Linked DNA regions of Homo sapiens: region 1 is linked to region 2. The links are contacts of gene promoters, found by promoter capture Hi-C in blood cells and fetal thymus (Javierre and others, 2016). All regions are on one chromosome and are shown on one strand. Each heading gives the region's core, a stretch centred on a gene start or on the middle of the fragment in contact. The rest is flanking DNA. Distances are from core to core; before and after follow the strand shown.

The links. Contacts are between HindIII fragments. The CHiCAGO score rates a contact against its expected background, and 5 or more counts as called.
Region 1: a contact is called between a fragment that was not itself captured here and the fragment with the promoter of PITRM1-AS1 in region 2, in 2 of 17 cell types (M2 macrophages and megakaryocytes). The highest score is 5.7, in M2 macrophages.

The regions. Positions count from the first base shown.
Region 1 is chr10:1,086,159-1,089,134 of GRCh38, forward strand. It overlaps WDR37 (WD repeat domain 37), which reads left to right. Exons shown (of 14, transcript NM_014023.4): 7 at 128-199. Among named protein-coding and RNA genes, the nearest start is that of WDR37, 31 kb to the left of the region's middle. The HindIII fragment of the contact is 1,804 bases long and covers 392-2,195 here.
Region 2 is chr10:3,140,017-3,142,893 of GRCh38, forward strand. PITRM1-AS1 (PITRM1 antisense RNA 1) reads left to right here and starts at 1,585. Exons shown (of 4, transcript NR_038284.1): 1 at 1,585-1,753. It overlaps PITRM1 (pitrilysin metallopeptidase 1), which reads right to left. Exons shown (of 27, transcript NM_014889.4): 24 at 671-796. RefSeq lists enhancers at 1,325-1,826, 1,827-2,326. The HindIII fragment of the contact is 14,067 bases long and covers 1-2,877 here.

The DNA of each region.
Region 1 (2,976 bases), core at 44-2,543, 2.1 Mb before region 2:
TCAAAGGTGGAAGAGATATCAGTGGTCGTGTAATTTCCCATTTTTAGAGTATTTGTCTTATTCTTTCATTTGAAAAACTATAAACTGATGATAGCTAAGTTCCGACTTCTTCATTTCCATCTTGCAGATCACACGGCTTTGCTGTGGAGCATAGAGACAGGGAAGTGCCTAGTCAAGTACGCAGGCCACGTGGGCTCAGGTAAGCACTGCCTAAGGAGTGCCGTAGCCAGAGGCCGTTGCCTTCTCCAGTGTGTTTTTAAAATCGTGCATGATAAAGCCAGCTGCTACTGTGTAGGAAGCCTTACTGTTTCGGTTGTCAGGGGACAGTGTGGTCTGTTCAGAGACTGGGATAACTCTGTCTTGAGCTTGTATGGGCTCAATAACAGGGAAAAGCTTAACTCCCTAAACAATGTACATATCATGTTAGTCTGCATTTTATTTAATATTGTATATAACCCATATGTAGGAAATTTTGTAACTGAAATGTGTGCGTTATTTTTCACAAAATACATATCTGTTTTAGAGGTTTACTTTTGATGTAGTGATAACTTGGATGTATTCAATAAAGGATACTCCATGAATGTGCTTGCGTGCCCGTAGTTAATGCTGTCCACGGAGTGAATGCTGTCCACGTAGTTAACGCTGTCCATGTAGTTAGTTAACGCTGTTCACGTAGCTCTTTTCTGCCTTTTCACTTAGAGCTGTGTGTGTACCAGTTTCCTGACCAGACTTTGTTTCTGTTTCCTCTCGCACGTGCTGTGTGGTTCCTTCCCCCGCAGTGCCCTCTTCACTTGCTCACTCGCCCTCCCTCACACCTCCACGCTGCCAGGCTGAGAGGTGGCATCGCCTGTGTGCACAGAGGGACAGGTGTGGGTGGGGCCCGTGGCTCTGAGCGCCTGTCTGCCCGTCCACAGGGCCCTGATGAGCTGTGGAGCCTTCCCCTCCCCTTTCCCAGGACCTCCTCTCCTTTGGCCATTCCTGCTGTCACAGTGTCTTCTCTTTCTTGCCCTGGACATTTCCCCTTAGTGTGTAGACAGGCTGGCGCCTTTCCCGTGTTAGACCCCCTCCTCCGTGCTGCCTTCTTACCTGTCTTCCTCCCCTGGCATCCCACAGACTGGCTGGGGTGCCACAGTGTCACCTGCAGTTTTCTAGCAGTGCCTGGCGTGTGTGTGATTGGTGCTCAAATGTAGAGCAAAACGCTGTTACAGGAACGAGTGCTGTATTCTGTTTCCTCCTTCAAATTTCCTCTTCAGAAACGTTAAAAAAATTAAATATATGTGCATAGGTTAAAAACTTAAGACTTGAAAATCGAAATGACTCCTTGATCCCTGGGCTACAGAATGGATGTTGTGTTAGTAGGCATGAAATCAGCATTCATCTTGTACATCTCCATCAGAGCTCTTAGGTGAGCAGGTGCGTTGTCAATGAGCCAGTTGTATTATGATAGGTGTAGGTCTTAATGGTAGGCTTAAAATACTCAGTCAACAATGCTGTCATCAGATGTACTGTCATCCATGCTTTGTTGTTCCATTTATGGAGGACAGGTAGAGGAGATGTAGCGTAATTCTTAAGGGCCCTGGGATTTTTGAAATGGCAAGTGAGCATTGACTTCAGCTGAAAGTCACCAGCCGCATTCGCCCCTAACAAGAGTCAGCCTGTCCCTTGAAGTTTCGAAGGCATGGATGTCTCCTTTCTAGCTAGGAAAGTACTAGACAGCATATTCTTCCAATATAAGGCTGTTTGTTTGCATTCAAAACCTGTTGTTTAGAGTAACCATCTTCACCAATGAGCTCAGCTGGATCTTCTGGAGAACTTGCTGCAGCTTCTCCATCAGCACTTGCTGTTTCACCTTGTACTTTTATGTTGTGGAGACGGTGTCTTAAACCTCATAAACAACTCTCTGCCAGCTTCCAGCTTTTCTTCCGCAGCTCCCTCACCTCTCACAGCCCTCAGGGAATTGAGAGTCAGGGCCCTGCTCTGAATTAGGCTGCAGCTAAAGGGAATGTTGTGGCTGGTTTAATCAGTCCCCACCACTCAAACTTCCTGTGTATCGGCGTTCTTGTCATTTGTGTGTTCACTGGAATAGTGCTCTTACTTTCCTTCGAGAACTTTTCCTTTGCATTCAGAAGTTGGCTGTTTGGTGCAAGATGCCCAGCTTTCAGCCTGTCTCAGCTTTTGACTTGCCTTCCTCACTAAGCTTAATCATTTCTAGCTTTTGATTTAAAGGGAGCAATGTGCAACTCTTCCTTGCATTGGAATACTTAGAGGCCATTGTAGGGTTATGAATTGGCCTAATTTTAGTATTGTTTTGTCTCGGAGTAGAGAGGCCTGAGCAGAGGGAGAGATGAGAGAAAGGCTGGTTGGTGGAGCAGTCATAACTCCCACAACATTTATTGAGTAAGTTTGTGGTCTTATGTGGGTGTGGTTTGTGCCTCTCCCCAAAATGACAATGGTAGCATCAGAGATCACAGGTCACTATTAACAGACATAATAATAATGCAAAAATCCAAGGTCAAGGTGCTGGCAAAAAGAAATTAAAAAAAAAAAAAGAAAAAGTTTGAAATATTGCAAGAATTACCAGCGTGTGTCACAGAGACGTGAAGTGAACACATGCTGTTGGGAAAATCGTGGCAATTAGGTGTTCAACGCAGGGTTGCCACAAACCCTCAATTTGTAAAAAATCCAGTACCTACAAAGCACAGTAAAGTGAAGGGTAATAAAACGGGGTATGCCTGCATCCACACATAGACGTGTACATACACGCATAGTCATTTCTGTTCTCTAGAGGGGATTTAATTTTCCCTTGGCCAGCAGATAGAGTGGACGGCAAGCCTTGATTGACTTAAGGGTTGGTGGCCGGTGGGTTTCAGGCTTTAGGGGTTCTGCTGTTCCTCTCGCTTTCCCTTGTTCTAAGGGAGTTGTCCTTCAAGGGTGTGTCTTCACAGGCCCTGAGCTTTAGTTTCATCTGCCAGTCCT
Region 2 (2,877 bases), core at 335-2,834:
TGTTTCAGGACCCCCACGGCAGGGCTGCAACCTCAGACAGCCACTATGGATACTATGTTTTTTTCCTATACCTATGATAAAGTTTATAGATTAGGTGCAGCAAGATATTAACAAAATACAACAATTATACTGTAATAAAAGTTACGCTGATGGGCTACTATTAAGTAAAACAAGGGTTCTGTGAACAGAAGCTCTTGGATACCCACAGCGTATCTGATACCTAGACGGCTACTGGGTGACCAACAGGCAGGTACCGTAGACAGCGTCAGCTTTCATCCCACTGCTTAGAAGAATGGTGTACAATTTAAAACTTAGGAAGTGTTTATGTCTGGAATTTTCCATTTAATATTTTCAGACCGAGGGGGACTGTGGGTAATAAACCATGGAAGGCAAACCCACGGATGGAGGCACTACCGTGTTCTGCCAAAATATGCTGGCTGAAGCCAGGGTTTACTGAAGGCAGAATGCTTCCTGTTTCGGCTGCTGGCCCTAATCCTCGCGCCAGAAAGGACATTGCTGGGTGTGGCTAAGTGCCCAAGGAGTGAAAAGAAGCACACAGAACAACTTTTGTCTAAAATTCACTGCAGTAGAAGAAAATGACACTGATAATCATGAGTAGAAGACTAAAACGACGTGTGCATCCCAATGTGTGAACTAGAGCAAAACTCACCTGTAAGAGTAAAGGGTGAAAATCCCATTGTGGCTGAGTTTTGCGCCTCCACCATAAGCACCGCCTTTTTCTCGAATTTCTGTATGCAAGAATTTGGCAGTCATCAAACGTGCAAGGATTTTAAGACTGAAATGATTAAAAAATGCAAGTTAATACCGTGGCTGATAAAAAAGCATAGACAATGAAGTAATTGTTGGATTAAGTGAAAATGAAAATCGAGTTGTAAAATAATGCTGCATAAATTATGGTCCCATATTTTGGTCTTGTTTTTTAAGAGATGGGGTCTCGCTCTGTCGCCAGGCTGGAGTGCATTAGTGCAATCACAGCTCACTGCAGCTTTGAACTCCTGGGCTCAAGGGATCCTCCCACAACAGCCTCCTGAGTAGCTGGGCCTACAGGTGTGTGCCACCACGCCTGACTATTTTTACAGTTTTTGTAGAGGCAGGGTCTAGCTTTGTTGCCCAGGCTGGTCTCAAACACCTGGCTTCAAGTGATCCTCCTGCCTTCAAAGTGCTGAGCTTACAGGCATGAGATTTTCTTTTCAATTAACCAAAACTAAAAAGCACAAGGAAGCACAATTTTCAAACAGTTGGCTTAGATTACAGGGTTGAAGGGAGAGGTGGTGGGGAGGGAATCTTAACACTTCCAGCACCACACTGCTTAACTTGTTCCAATGCACATGTGGCATTTTTAAAATCTCGTGAAGTAGAAAGAGGTTATTTCTATTATAAAGGCAAATGAGCAAATGAACATTTATTTAAATGTCTCACATCAGAATATGGAAAGAAAGGAAACTGAAGTGAGTTTTATAAGAATCCCTTAAGAAAACACACACTCTCTGATAAAGCACATTTCTAGGAACAGGGCCAATTTCCTCTGCCTTCCACTGTGAACGGTAACATCACATTCAAGCTGATTCTAGAACACATCCACCTCCGACAGAAGGCGGGGCAGACAATGATGGGAGGGTCTGCAGCACAGACACAGGCTCCTTGAAGACGCCCGTGGTGAGATCAGCCCCAGGTCGCCGCTTCCACAGACAGGCCTTTTCCTAAAGTGGATGAAGGGAGTCAAATAGGCCAGGTGGGAAATCAAGGAAGGAGTGGGCGTGTTCCCAGGGGCTGTGGTGGGAGAAGTCACGACCATCTCGTGTGGGTCCTCCAGGAGAAACCCAGCGCCACTCGGGTGGCTGGGGCGCCGTCAGCCGGGACTAGCGAGGCTGGAGTCAGACCCTGGGGGACGGAGTCTCCACCAGCACCGGCAGGGATGGCGTTCCATCCGTCCACACATTATCCTTCCTGAGAAATTTCTATTACTTGTATATTAAAAACATGCTCACTTTTGAAAGATTATAAAATACAAAACACAAGGAAAAAAAGATCTGGAATCCCACTGCCCAGGGGGAACCTCCACATTTTTAGTGTTTTCTGTCTACATTTTCCTGTTGGATAGTGGAAACAGACACCACTCTTCTGCCGGCATAGCAGACAGATCTGTTCATCTTCTACAAATATGGAAATAAATGAACAAAACAGCTGACCACATACTTCTACAGCCAGCTCTTTCTGGGCCCCCACTGCAGCCCCACGTTTCTTCCCGCCTGCCTCCTACACACCTCCCCATCTGTGACCCTCTGTGACACACGTGCACCTCGGAGGCCCGGCTCCTTCTCCAATCAGGACAGGCTGCCCAGGCCTAAGCCTGCCTTCCCCCTCTCTACCAGGCTCACTCCTTGGTTTAGTCCCTCATGGGGGTAGCTGCCTGGGACAAGGACACAGGAAGTGAATTTCCGGGATATAACATGTTTGCACATATCTGTGTCATACACACCCAACTGACGGGTCCCCAAAGGTGCACGTCTGTGAGTCTGTCCTGGTCTGGCCAGTTTCCCCAGATGGGATGAACACAGCCAAGGGGCAGCCAGAGTTCGGAAGAAGGGGCTGGAGGGCCAGTCTGTAGGCTGCAAACTCCCTCGCCCCACGCCACTTTGGGAACAGGCCTGACCCTGACTCTTGGCTGTGGCTTCGGCTGCTCAACCCAGGGCCTCCTTCCCTGAGCTTCTGACTTGGTGGGGAGACAGGGGAGACAAACTCCTTAGAGGGACTGTGAGGCGGCCTCCAGCCCTGCCATCTGCAGGGCTCTGCAGGACCACCTGGTTTCTCCCCACTGCCCTGTCCCTCTGTGGCCCCAGGTCAGGCACCCCCCAC